Regions from separate parts of the Homo sapiens genome. Here all the other regions are linked to region 2. The links are contacts of gene promoters, found by promoter capture Hi-C in blood cells and fetal thymus (Javierre and others, 2016). All regions are on one chromosome and are shown on one strand. The core of a region is centred on a gene start or on the middle of the fragment in contact, and the rest is flanking DNA. Distances in the headings are between cores, read along the strand shown. Region 1 overlaps PEF1 (penta-EF-hand domain containing 1). Region 2 holds the start of ZBTB8OS (zinc finger and BTB domain containing 8 opposite strand). Region 3 holds the start of PUM1 (pumilio RNA binding family member 1).

Region 1 (4,498 bases), core at 45-2,544, 1.0 Mb after region 2:
CTTAGGTTTGGATGATTAAGCAGAACGGAGCTCCATTCACTGAGATGAGAACACAGGGAGGCATGGGTTTGGAGGGAAGGTCCAGTAGGCTGCTGGATATGTGGGTCTGTAGCTCAGGAGTGATGAAGCTGGAAAGATTTGAAAGTGTGAGCACAGAGGTAATTGAAGTCTGGGGATGGTTCTTGGCTCATTGTTTATTGGTTGCGTGCTTCTCTCCTATTTCAAGTGGCTCTGCTGGTGAATGCTTGAACTGTTCCTCTTGTCTTCCTGTGATTGTTTAACCCCTTAGTTTGGGCTTCCCACCTCCTCCTGTGCACTTGAAGGGTAGCTCTGGGGTACAAACTTGTCTTTGCAATGCTCCCTCCTCCATTCGTCATCAGGGCTCAGCTTGGAACAGCCGTTGATACCTTTAAGCTTCACAGGGGTCTTGAGGTTAGAAGACTTGAGTCCTCAGAACTGGAAAGAAAAAAAAAATACCGGACTTTCTGAGGTGGTTATTTGGGAGGAGGTAAGCTCCCTACTGCTTGCGCAAGTGCAGGTAGAGATTCCAGGTGGTTCTGCAGAGATTCCATTATTAACTGAGAGGTTGAACTGAAGAGTCTTTGGGGTGTCTTCCAAAATGTGGCTTGGCTCTCAAAGTGACTCTAGGTGCTGGGACGAAAAAGAATGAGATTTTTCTAAGAGTCCCTGATTTCTGGGCTTGAAGGCTCTGAGAGATCACCCAATCCAGCCTTCCCCTCTACCTCTGTCCACAGTAGAAATTCATTATATTTGACAAAGACATTTAGCACAGTCCCTCACACAGACACATGCTAGGCACTCACTCATTTATTGAGTGAACAAACAGAAGGGGGTAGTGTAGAGTCATGCAGACCCTGACTTGAATCCCAACTTGCCCATTCTAGCTGCATGATCTCAGGCATGTTATTAAACTCTCTGCCCCTTAATTTTCTCATCTGCAAAATGGAGATGACACTGTTTACCTCACAGGACTGAGGATTAGTGAGAGCTGGTTGAACTGGAAGCACCTAGCAGAGCCTCAGTAAATGTTTGTTGCCCCCAGTCCCCCCAGGGCATCAGATGTAGCTTATTTGCAATCAGCCAGAGCCCTAGAGATAGTTTTTCTGTGTTGCTTCAGAAGCTGCAGTTACTGAACTCTTCCTGTCCTTCCCCTCCACCTGCCTTCACAATCCTGTTTATCAGTATGAAATAACTCTTGGAAAAACTCTAAAAAGGGCTGGGAGCATGGAGTAGTGTAAAAGAACGTGGAGTCAGGGATGCTGTTTTTCATTTCTGGTTCAGACCTTTGCTAACAACTCAGTGACACTGGGTGACCCTCTGTGAGGTGGGGACCACCTCATCTTCTTCCCCAAACTTCCTGTGCAGCCTGCATTCTGTCTCAGTTGGCTCCACCTCCTTCATCTTGTGCAAAAGCTAGAAACCCGAGTCATTCTGAACACTTTCCTCACTCCTCCTCCATCTCTTTCCTAATCTAATTAGTCACCAAGTCATGTCTGGTCTATCTCTGAAATAGCTTCAGAATCCATTCCGTTCTCTTCATCCCCAAGTGTGCTGTCTGGTTCATGCCCTGCCTGCCCAGCACCTGGGCTACTGCCTCCCTCACTGGCTCATCCTCCACACCGCCGCTGGTTACTTCTCTAAACAAGGTTCTCATCACGTTCCTCTCCTATTGGAAACCCTTCTATAGTGCTCTGTTTTCTCCGGCATAAAGCCCCAACAAAACTCTTTAGAGTGGTGTTCATTTGTCCAAATATTTGTGGAGGCTTGCAGGTGCCAGGCACTGTGCTGGGCCCTGGGGTGCCATGATGAGTGAGGCGCAGTGTCTGCCCCTGGGGAGCTTACTGTTGGGTGGGGGAGATGCTAGACAGAAACTACTCTTAGACACTGATACCTCACGGCTAACTGAAATGCAGGGGGAGAGGTGCTTGGTCAACGAGTGTATAGAGGGCCTGCCTTTCTGGGTTCACACTGCATTCTTGGCTCTGCGGTTTAACTCATTCCCTGAATGCACTATGCTCACTCTTAAGTCTGTGCGTTTGTCTTTCTTCTCTCTTCTGTCTGGAGTGTCCTTCCCTGCCTGCCTTTTGGAAAATGTCTATGCATCCTTCAAGGACCATTTCCAATATCACTGCCACTTCCTCCAGGAAGCTTTCCTTGACCCACTTCATACATTGTTCATTTATTCATTCTGCAAACAGCACAAATTCCTCCATCTAAGCTTCCTTGATAGCACATAAGTAGATTTTTCTGATGGCACTGATCAGATTGTATCACAATTATCTGTGGGCCCCTTAAGGGCAGGACTTCATTTACTTGTGTCCTCAGATCTACTACAGAGCCTAGTACAATATTGTCACTCTGAAAATGCGTGCTGAATGAAGTCCTTTAACAGCTCCGTGGCTTAGTTTCTTCATCTGTAAAAGAGGGCAACTAACATCTTCCTTTTTTCTGTTAGGAGGCCATTGGCAAGATTCTGCCTGTAGTGTTTGTGTTTGTGAAAGTACTTTGTAAACTACAGAGGAGGTCTTCAAATGCAGGACAGAAAGGAAAGGGTTTAATTGCTGCCAGACTACAATAGCCAGAAGGGCAGGAGACCTGCCTGGCAGCACCTGCTTTGTTGGCCTGGGGATGTTTCCTAGGTGGTTTATAGGTGGTTTCCTAGGTGGGTTTTCCTAGGTGCCAGGTGCGGTTTATAGCTTTGCTCACAGGGCTTATAGTGGGGCAGCTACTTCTGGCTTCGTGTCTGGCCTGTTCTTTGGGTGTGCCCAGATTCTGCAGAGTTCCCACTCCCTTTCCATCCTATGCTGGAATCCTGAGCCCTATTGCTTAATGAAGGAGTGTTGTAGCAGGAGGCAGGGGGAGTCATTGGGTGCAAGGGAGTGGTCCAGCCTTGTCTCTTCCTCCAGCTCACAGCATTACTTGGGCAAGTCCCTCCCTCCCTCCCCCATCTGTAAAATGGGGGTTAGGTTAAGTGACTTGTCTTCTGGGTATTTCTCTTGTCACACCTCTCCAACCCCTTGGGAATCCTGTTCGTTCTCTAAGTCCTAGCTCAAATGCCACTCTCATGGAAACACTCCCTGATTTTACCCTCCTTCCTTTGCAGTCCTATGGCACATGACTTATGTCTCCATTTCAAACACCTGTTTTCCTTATGCTGTTTTGTTAGACGTTACACAGTGTCTACATGTTAAGTCTTGTTAACTGTGAGTGCCTTCAGATTGCTTCACTCTCCTTTATACCCCACCCCGCACAGTTCACCTGGCCCAGGACTTTGCTGATAACAGTAATTAATATAGCAATAGCAGCTATGACTTACTGATCATTTGCTTTATGCCAGGCACTGTTGTAAAAACTATTTTTCTTATGTGAGTGGTTTTCAGACTGTCTTTTCAGTCACTGTGAGGGGTTTTCAGAGCCCCCTCAGAATGTAGCAAGGGAGGGGGTTCCATATTGTAGGGGCTCTGGAGCTCCCACCTTACTTCAGCCAGAGCAACTTTCTTGTATTTGTTTTATTTATTTTATCAAAGGATTCTTTCTTTCTCTCTCTCTTTTTTTTTTTTTTTTTTTTTTTTGGAGACAGGGTCTCCCTCTGTTACTCAGGCTGGAGTGTTGTGGCACAATCACAGCTCACTGCAGCCTCCAACTTAGGCTCAAGTGATCCTTCCGCTTTAGCCTCCCGAGTAGCAGGGACTACATGTGTACCACCATGCCCGGCTGATTTTTAAAAATTTTTTGTAGAGGTGGGATCTTACTATGTTGCCCAGGTTGGTTATCAAAGGATTCTTTAGCTAAAAATTAAACTGACAGAATTTTGCTGCATTTATTTTTTATAATCTGCAGAACAGTCCAGTGAGGAAGGAATTGTTCTATTTGTGAGGAAGCAGGCTCAGAGAGATGAAGCCACGGGCCCACAGTCATGAACTTAGCTGATGGGAGCAGAGTTTTAAATTGAGATCTGTGTGAGCCATTCTTGTCTGTGAAGGAGTCTTGCTAGTAGCTATGACAGCTTCTAGGGTAGAAAAGCTCCCAAGGATTGCTGAGTGGGTGACAGGGCCTGCTTCCTGCCCTCCCCACAAAAAAACCTCATGAATTTGGCCTTAGCCTTAAGAGTAATTATTTCAAGCTATCAAACACAATAAAAAGAGAAAGCCCAGGCTCTCAGTGGCTTGGCCACTGGTGCACTTACAGGTTGATCTAGAACGTATCTAGATGGTGCCGTTCTCGGAGCTGGGCCTAGCTGCTGTCTGTGCCCTTGAGCTCAGCTTGTCTGCAGATGTGTTGGGGCTGTGCTCTGCTGGGTCCTGTGCTAGCCATTTAGGGAGATGGAGCGGAACACTCCGAGGGCTACTGGTGTGGGAAGATGGATGAGAGAGGGAATGCCCCCATGTATGCTCTAATGCACAAATGCCCTGGACATAGAGCCAAGAGACCCAGGTTCTGGTCCCAGCCCCTCCACACAGCCTGTGTGTGACTTTCC
Region 2 (4,564 bases), core at 1-2,500:
AAATCCCCACGGCAGAGGCATCCACACTCTCCACTTTCGCGGCGCCGAAACTCCTCGGGCCATCCCCGCCAAACACTCCGTTACCCGTTCCAGGCCAAGGGGCCAGCCAGGCCTTCGGAGCACGCTCGTGCGCGCCGAAACTCACAAGCCCGACGAGGAGGCCCGAGCTCCGAGCCTTGTGGGTAGGAAGCGGTGTCCCCACGCTCGGGACAGAGGCCGAGAAACCGATATCGGAGGCAGGAAGAGAAACAAACACTGGCCGGGGGCCCCACCGCTGGCTTCGCCAGCTGCGACCGAAATCGGTCCCAGGGAACTGGCGAGCCGTTAGCACGCCCCGCGGGGAGTTCCCTCTTCACGCCTTCAGTACCGGGGACTGCACTCGGCAAACTCGGGCCTGCCCTCACTGTTAGGCCATGTCGAGGCCGCGGCTCAGCCCAGGCACCCACTGCCCTCCTGGGTCGGCCCCGGCACCCTCACCTTCCTTGTCGGCCATGGCGGGCAGGCGAGCCGGGGGAATCCTGGGGTCGAGCGTTGCGGGAGGGGCGGGGAGGCTGCAAGAGCTCGCTCTGTGCGCGCGGCCTCTATTGTTTCCTGCGCCCCCAGCGCGAGGGCTGACTCGCGCACCTTCGCGCCAACATCAGCCAATGGGAGCGCTCCTAATGGCGGGATGGGCGGGGAAGCCGCGTTCGCGACCAATCCAGACGCGCGGAGTAGCTTTCCGCGGGGACCGAGGCGCGCGCTCCGCCCCTCCCCCCACGCCTCCCCGAGCCGACTTCCAGCGATTGCGCGCGCCGGCGTTGACGGGACTGCGCCCGGTCAGGGTCACGTGAGAGAGGTTTGGTCCGCACACTCCCGCGGCAAGAGGGCAGCCATTTTCTTGAAGGCTATTAAGCTTACGACCCTTTCAGAGTACTGAGATGAAAAATCTAGAATGCCTTCGGGTCTAGTTATCAATTTTGGGGGTGAAGCGGGGGAAAGAACCTCGCCAGTCAGACCCAGACGGGTTTCATTCAAGGTGCCCTTCAACGTTTTTCCTTAGTCTTTGGAAAGAACTAGTAATGAAGGAATCGCAGAAGATGGGGTTTTGGCTTTTTAAATATGCGATCCAAGCGGCAGGGTAGGGACTAAAGTAGGTCAACAGCCAACTCCGAGAAAGGAGTGTGGTCCTTTAAGGGTGTGCGCCAAGGGGCGGAGTCTAGAGCGGAAGTAGTAACTCCGGGCCGAAGTCCGGTGGATGAAGGGCGGAAGTAGAGTGTCTAATCCTGCAGTCATGGCGCAGGAAGAGGAAGATGTTAGAGATTACAATTTGACTGAAGAACAGAAGGCGATCAAGGCCAAGTATCCGCCAGTCAATAGGAAGTACGAGTGTGAGTAGGTGGCTTACTTCTCTCTTTACATGTAAGCACACAGGCATCCCCTCTCCTTACCCGCGGCTTCCTGCTGCTCTTTCTACTGTGCCCCATGGGTACTTCAGGCATGATCCCATTTGTGCCGGCTGTTGTAGTCGCGTTCGTACTTCTCCTGGGGATGCTGAAGGAAAAAGCCACCTGGTTTAATAGTCGCGAAACCTGGCCTCCCTCATTTACAGTCTCTTGAACTTCTTCCACATGTGCCTAATCACATTTATCTTCGTAAATTCTAAAGATAACCATATTTTCAGGCGTTTGCAGGGTTGTTACCCCCATGTATTTCCCAACGGTGAGATTAGAGTGTGCGAGGTTAGAGGACTCGGAAAGCTAATTAGGGGATTTCTAACTTGATGTTTCACCTCGATCATATTAGCAAAAAACCTGGTTTTGCCATTTATGATTGTGATTTTTAAAAATGATTATTTTAGGCCGGGCTCGGTGGCTGAGGCCTGTGATCCCAGCACTTTGGGAGGCCGAGGCGGGCGGATCACCTGAGGTCGGAAGTTCGAGATCAGCCTGACCAACATGGAAAAACCCCGTCTCTACTAAAAATACAAAATTAGCTGGGCGTGGTGGAGCATGTCTGTAATCCCAGCTACTCGGGAGACTGAGGCAGGAGAATCGCTTGAACCCGGGAGGCGGAGGTTGCGGTGAGCCGAGATCGCCCCATTGCACTCCAGCCTGGGCAACGAGCGAAACTCTGTCTCAAAAAAAAAAAAAAATGTGTGTGTGTGTGTGTGTGTGTGTGTGTGTGTGTTTTTAGAGATGGGGTCTCGCTCTGTCGTCCAGGCTGGAGTGCAATGGAGCGATCATAGCCCGCGCTGCAGTGCCCAGCTGGTTTTGCCATTTATTCGCTTAGTGACTTTAGGCAAATCACATAACCTATCTTTGTCTCTTAAATTCTATATTAAACGTTAAGCTGTCATCCCTAAAGGTAGCTGTGGTTTGGGGAGCACAAATCTGACTTTTATTTATCTGCTTAAAATCTTTCATTAATTTCTCATTGTCCTCTCTGTAAAATCTACTTATTTACCATAGTATTCTAGGCAATGTGCTTTCTGGAGCTGGCATACCTCCTAGCATATCCCCTTCTCTCACTTAAAAACAATTTTAAAATATTATAGGCCGTTTGCGGTGGCTCACACTTATAATCCCAGCACTTTGCGAGACTGACGTGGGTGGATCACCTGAGGTCAGGAGTTCCAGACCAGCCTGGCCAACATGGTGAAACCCCGTCTCTACTAAAAATACAAAAATTAGCTGCGCATGATGGTGGGCGCCTGTAATCCCAGCTACTCGGGAGGCTGAGGCAGGAGAATTGCTTGAACCCAGGAGGGTGGAGGCTGCAGTGAGCCGAGATCACACCACTGCACTCCAGCCTGGGCAACAGAGTGAGACTGTCTCAAAAAAAAAAAAAAAAAAAAAAAGGCCTGGTGCTGTGGCTCACGCCTGTAATCCCAGCACTTTGGGAGGTTGAGGCGGGTGGATCACCTGAGGTCAGGAGCTTGAGATCAGCCTGGCCTGGCCAACATGGTGAAACCCCATCTCTACTAAAAATACAAAAATTAGCTAGGCATGGTGGTGGGTGCCTGTAATCCCAGCTGCTTGGGCGGCTGAGGCAGGAGAATCGCTTGAACCTGGGAGGCGGAGGTTGCAGTGAGCCGAGATTGCACCACTGCACTCCAGCCTGGGCGACAGAGCCAGACTCCATCTCAAAAAAAAATTATTTTTAATAGGTCATATATATTGATTTGAAATTCAGAAAGTGTAACATAGGCAGTGAAAAGTAACTCTGGCAGCCCCCATCCTCAACTACCTAGTCCCCCTCTGTAGAGCAGTCATCGTTACCTTTTTCTTACATGTACATACCTAGATGTTCTAGCATTTGCTTTAACCAATTTTCAGTTGATGGACGTTTAGGCTATTTCTACTCTTGTGGTATTAGAAACAGTGCAGCAGTGAATACACTTGTACATCCACTGTTTTGTACATGTGCAAGTGAATCTGTAGAATCAAGTTCTCCAAGTTTTTTTTGTTTCCATTGCTAAGACTCCTACATTTTTTAAAAGGATATTTTAACTTGGACAGTTATTGCCAAATTGCTCTCTATAGGAGTTGTACCAATTTATACTTTCACTAGTATTGTGTGAATGTGCCTCTTTCCTCCCACTTCTACTAATTGTTACCATACTTTTTTATCTTTTCTAATTTGTAAAGTATACTTACTGTATTTTTCTTATTGTAAGTGAAGTTGAACATATTATACTGTTTTGGAAGCTATTTGTATTTCCCATTCTGGGGTGTGTATGTTAATATTCTTAGCCCTTTTTTCTCTTGGGTTATTTTTTTTTTGTCTTGGGTTGTTGGTTTTTCTTACTAGGCAGAAAGTGTTTTTATGCAATGCAGTTCATTAACCAGCGGTCCCCAACCTTTTTGGCACTAGGGACTGGTTTCACGGAAGTCAGTTTTTCCACCAACGGGGGTTGTAGGGGAGGATGGTTTCAGGATGATTCAAGCGCATTACATTTATTGTGCATTTTATTTCTATTATTATTACGTTGTAATATATAATGAAATAATTATACAACTCACTGTAATATAGAATCAGTGGGAGCCCTGAACTTGTTTTCTTGTAACTAGATGGTCCCATCTGGGGATGACAGATCATCAGGCTTTAGATTCTCATAAGGAGCACACAGCCTAGATCCCTCAATGTGCAGTTCACAATAGTGTTCAAGCTCCTATGAGAATCTAATGCTGTGCCTGATCTGAAAGGAAGTGGAGCTCAGGCAGTAATGTTAGCAATGGGGAGCTGTTGTAAATATAGAAGAAGCTTTGTGAGCTCATGTCCTGCTGTGCTGCCTGGTTCCTAACAGGCCACCAACTGGTACTGGCCAGGGGGTTGGGGACCCCCTGCATTGACCCTTTCTTTCTTTTCTTTTTTTTTTTTTTTTGAGACAGAGTCTCGCTTTGTCATCCAGGTTGGAGTACAGTGGCATGATCTCCAGTCACTGCAACCTCTGCCCCCCAGGTTCAAGTAATTCTTCTGCCTCAGCCTCCTGAGTAGCTGGGACTACAGACATGCACCACCACACCTGGCTAATTTTTTTTTTTTTTTTTTTTTGAGACAGAGTAGCTGGGATTACAGGTATGCA
Region 3 (4,614 bases), core at 1,565-4,064, 1.6 Mb after region 2:
ATTTAAATAAGGCCGCAGAGCTAGAAAGCTGCAGAGAAGGGGTTTGAACCCTGCACCTCTGGGGCCAGGGCAGTGCGGGTGGCCGTCCGCGAACCCTGCTAGCTGTGGTGCTCGGGGGCAAGCTTCCGAGGGCGCGGCGGGCGCGAGGAGCGCGTCCGAGACTCGGTGGAGCGTCACCGGCGCAACCCCGCGTGCCCAGCTCCAGGCCGTGTTCTCCCAGGTGCGGGCCGGCGGGACCCCGCCTTCGGCCCTGGCGGCGCGCGCTCGCCTAGCGGGCGGGCACTCGCGCGCAGCGTTTGTGTTGCCTGCGAGTTTCCCGAGTTCACACAGGCCCTGGGTTGGCATGGCAACCAGGCAACCTGTTCCAGAGCCGCCAGCCTTCTCCGCACATGCCGCTGCCACCGCCGGGGCCGGGGCCGGAGCCTATCCCAGGATGCACCGCGCCAACCCAGTCCCCAGTGGGCCGCCATGTTGTCGGAGTGAAAGGTAAGGGGGAGCGAGAGCGCCAGAGAGAGAAGATCGGGGGGCTGAAATCCATCTTCATCCTACCGCTCCGCCCGTGAGTATCCGCACCCCACCGGCCCCAAACGCTGCTCCGGACCCCTAACGAGCAGATTGTCCCTTCATATTGGTGTTTGAGAGTGGTTGTGGGGGTGAGAAGGGCTTTGGAAAAGCCGCCGGGGCCCTGGCTGAGGCTTCTCACTCGCTGTTCCTCGTACATGTTTTGGAGTCAGCAGCAAGGCCCCTATTGTTATCAAAGGAGGGAGGGGGTGGGGAGCGGGGTCGAAGCTAGGAAAATGCTGGGGGTTTAGGCCCGAGCCCAGGGCGTAGACGTGCCTCTACATTTTTGCCTGGCCCTGTTGGGAACCACCGAAGATTGATGTTGCCATTCGGGTTGCTTTTTTTGATGGGTTTGCGAAGCCCCGAGTCTTCTGTGTGGCCATGAAGTGTAATTCTGTGCCACCCCGATTTCTTCGACTTCTTGAGCTTCCGTGGCAGCGCCGGAGGAGGAGGAACAATAAATCGCTTTAGAAGCAGCCGTGGCCCTTGTCCACAGGCGAGATTCACCGTGGGGGAACTTTGCGAGCCTTAAATGTGGAGAAGTGGCGATCAGGAAGTTTCAGAATGCTTTTTAGGCTCCTGGGTTGCTGTGGCCTTTTGTTTCCGTGTGAGCTTGTGTTTTTGGTGGGTTCTTCCTTTTTGAGCCTCCCGGTGTTGGTGTCTCTCTTCACTCAAAGAGGGGTTCACCCCTTGCTAGTAGGAAAATCTAGATACACAATACTAGTTTTAGTCCTCACAAACATGCTTGGTAAACATAGATCATTTGTTTTACTTGTCAGTACCATTCCCACGTCAAGTGAGGAATACACTCCTGTAACTTTTCCCTCCTATAGCCCCCCCCCCCCCCCCCGCTGAAAAAACAAAGCCAGAAACCCACACACAGCATTACCAGAGAAGGCTTTATTCTCCCGTAACTTAGATTGTTACCTTTTATTGTTCAATTAAGAAAACACTGTTCTCAGCCCTCGATACCATTTTGCTCAATTCCTGTTATTACTGGGATTAATTAAGAATAAGATTTTATGAAGCTTTTCCTGGGTTCTGTTTTAAAGTCAGTTAACTTCTGAAACAATAGGCTTAGCATTTTGTTTCTTGAAAGCACCTAAAAACTTACTAAGACAGGCCCAACCCCAAGAAATGTGGCTTCCGATGCAGTTTTCGTAAGCAAAATAAACATTTTGACCCTTTGCTAATTTTAACTTTATAAAACACTGGGGGGCTGTTGATTCTTTATCTGGGCTCTTGGGAAACGCTCTCCGGATTCTGAACTTTGAGTTAGTGTTTTGCTTTAGCGACAATTGAATTCATTTTGTTCAAGGCCACAGCTTTTTGAAGTTGGAATTTGTTTAGTTTAGGTTTAAAATGAACTGTTTTAAGATAAATTTATGACCACAGAATGTTTGTTAAGTGTGGTAAAAATAAACACCTTTTAAACCACTAAGCATTTTAGTAAAAGGTGAGCCATGGAAATAAAGTAAACCGTGTTCCTTTGAATTCAACTCAATTAGTGATATTTTAAAAAACTTTGTAAACATTTGAAAGCTGTGAAAGAGTAGCTGGACTGAGCACTTCTAGTTGCTTAAAGTACTTATAAGGTGTCATTTGTAAAAAAATCACATTTTAAATGCTACACGTATTAGTGAGCTTTTCTGATATTTAGGATACTGAGTTTTTAATTTTTGTGCCGTATTTGCCAAAATACCACAAAACTACCCAAGATAACATGTTAATTGCTTAGGTATTTGCTCACTTTGAAACTGTTCTGCCAGGTTTTCTCTGGTTTGAGAAACTGCCTTGCCTCTTTAGGTAAAGCAGGAAGTCTTAGGGCATACAGATAGCTTTACAAAAGCCAATTGTTTCGTTTGAACATTTTTATAGGAGTCTTTTCTTTCCCCCATTCCTTTTAGAATGAAGGTGTGTTTAGTGTGCGTCAGTGATAAACTCCTCTTTTATGTGGATATTCTTTGTTAGATAACTTTTTTCTTTTAAAAATTTTTATTTGTATAATTTGTGAGGTACAAGTGTAATTTGTACATGCGTGTATTGCGTAGTGGTGAAGCCAGGGCTTTTTGTGTGTCCATCACTGGAATAACGTACATTGTCCTCCTTAGGTAATCTCTCATTATCCTTCTCTCAGCCTCCTAGATAACTATTTTGAGAAGGCTTTTATTTCAGAAAAGATTGCATTTGCTGTTTTAGGAATTCTGTTAGGGACTGGAGTTGCCTTAACTAGGGGTAACTAAATTCTAAGAGTCTTAAGCACGATGACTTTAAATTTACCAAAAACTTTTATATTTATCTCATTTTCATTAAGAAAAACCCAAAACATTGAGAGTCATAGAGGAAGGATTTCTTTCATTTTCTAGATGAGGAAACAGGTAGTTTTGTTTAGTGAAAGAACTTGGGTTTTGGAACTCTTGGCCTGCTCTAGAACAAAGATTGTTAGGTCGAGATTTCCTTTTAGAACAGAATGGGACTGTCTAGTATTAGTACTAAGAGAGTAATGAATTCTTTAAAAAACCAAGCAGGGAGGCATTAGGCTGGTTTGCACTTTTGAAAGACCGATGGTGAAACCGGGCTATGACTTTTTGGTTTTGGTACTTGAGCAGGGACTAGTGTCTAGGTTAGACTACTCCAGTACCCTGCTAAGGTTCTGATGGATTGGAATTCTTAACCTAGACTAGGCATTTCCAAATTAGGCTTTAAACAAATTACAAATTCCATTGTGTCTTCTTAGGCTGGCTTCAAAAACATGAATTTAGTTGTGAGAAGCAAATGCTACTTTATCAGAAGGTTTATTTATTCAACAGAGAGATAGTAGATTTGTTATTCATGTGTTTTTGAAGCATCACAGTGGGGGTTGGGAGAAGAGATAAAGCATTTGTAGCAGTAGACTGTTAGGCCGATGGCTTTGAAATTAGACCGTGGCTGTGGACAGGTGTGTCCTAATTGGTAACTGATTTATTTACTTTGTAGCTTTTTTTTTTTTTTTTTGAGATGGAGTCTCACTCTGTCGTCCAGGCTGGAGTGCAGTGCCTTGATCTCGGCTCACTGCAACCTCCGCCTCCTGGGTTCAAGCGATTCTTCTGCCTCAGTCTCCCGAGTAGCTGGGACTACAGGTGCGTGCCACCACACCTGGCTACTTTTTATATTTTTAGTAGAGACGGGGTTTCAGTATATTGGCCAGGCTGGTCTGGAATTCTGACCTGGAGATGCGCCTGCCTCCGCCTCCCAAAGTGCTGGGATTACAGGCGTAAGCCACCGTGTCCGGACACTTTGTAGCATTTTTTAAAAGCACCCACAGGCTGGCAAGTGTTCTATCTTAAGTACAGATGCAGTTTTTGGTTTTAAGGAACTTTAGTGTTTCATAGTAACATTTGAGGGATTCTTTGTTGGTCTTCCAGAGGAGTAGAGGATACAAATGAGACATATTGTTGAGTTACTCCTGCAAGGGGTTAGTAGAAAGAAGTAAGCTTGGGAACGATTAGGGTTTGAATCCTTTCTCTGCTACTTGCTAGTTGAATGGCCTTGGAAACATCCCATTTTCCTCCTGTACCTTAGTGTTTTCATTTGTAAAATAGAAATAATAATGGCTACCTTTCAATGCTTTTGTGATGAGACAATGTCTGCGATATATTCATTACACTATTACCGTGTTGAAGCTTCTGTTTGTTTGTTTGTTTTTGAGACAGGAACTCACTCTGTCGCCCAAGCGGGTGTGCAGCCTCCCGCTCCTGGGCTCAAATGATCCTCCCACCTCAGCCTCCCTAGTAGCTGGGACTATAGGCACATGCCACCATGCCTGGCTAATTATTTTTAGTAGAGATAGGTCTTGCTATGTTGCCCAGGCTGGTCTTGAACTCCTGGGCTCAAGCTGTCTGCCCACCTCAGCCTCCCAAAGTGCTGGGATTGTAGGTATGAGCCACCACACCCAACTGAGGCTTCTGGTTTGTATAGTGAGGCTTTCTTTTTTTTTTATAATTTAAAAAAATTATTTTATTTATTTATTTATTTTGAGACAGAGTCTCGCTCTGTCGCCCGGCTGGAGCACAG

What was found. Contacts are between HindIII fragments. The CHiCAGO score rates a contact against its expected background, and 5 or more counts as called.
Region 1: a contact is called between a fragment that was not itself captured here and the fragment with the promoter of ZBTB8OS in region 2, in 1 of 17 cell types (naive CD4 T cells). The highest score is 7.1, in naive CD4 T cells.
Region 3: a fragment that was not itself captured here is called in contact with the fragment with the promoter of ZBTB8OS in region 2 in 4 of 17 cell types (naive CD4 T cells, fetal thymus, total CD8 T cells and 1 more); the score reaches 9.0 in naive CD4 T cells.

What each region holds. Positions count from the first base shown.
Region 1 is chr1:31,636,739-31,641,236 of GRCh38, reverse strand. The region is part of intron 1 of PEF1 (penta-EF-hand domain containing 1); the gene reads left to right. Among named protein-coding and RNA genes, the nearest start is that of PEF1-AS1, 5.1 kb to the left of the region's middle. The HindIII fragment of the contact is 1,755 bases long and covers 417-2,171 here.
Region 2 is chr1:32,647,236-32,651,799 of GRCh38, reverse strand. ZBTB8OS (zinc finger and BTB domain containing 8 opposite strand) reads left to right here and starts at 1,250. Exons shown (of 7, transcript NM_178547.5): 1 at 1,250-1,367. The coding sequence starts at 1,271. It overlaps RBBP4 (RB binding protein 4, chromatin remodeling factor), which reads right to left and starts at 592. Exons shown (of 12, transcript NM_005610.3): 1 at 478-592. The coding sequence starts at 493. RefSeq lists enhancers at 1-43, 204-792, 793-1,380, 2,514-2,653 and silencers at 344-913, 4,170-4,239. The HindIII fragment of the contact is 3,350 bases long and covers 895-4,244 here.
Region 3 is chr1:31,061,561-31,066,174 of GRCh38, reverse strand. PUM1 (pumilio RNA binding family member 1) reads left to right here and starts at 458. Exons shown (of 22, transcript NM_001020658.2): 1 at 458-559. RefSeq lists a silencer at 152-371 and enhancers at 1-614, 482-801. The HindIII fragment of the contact is 2,445 bases long and covers 1,592-4,036 here.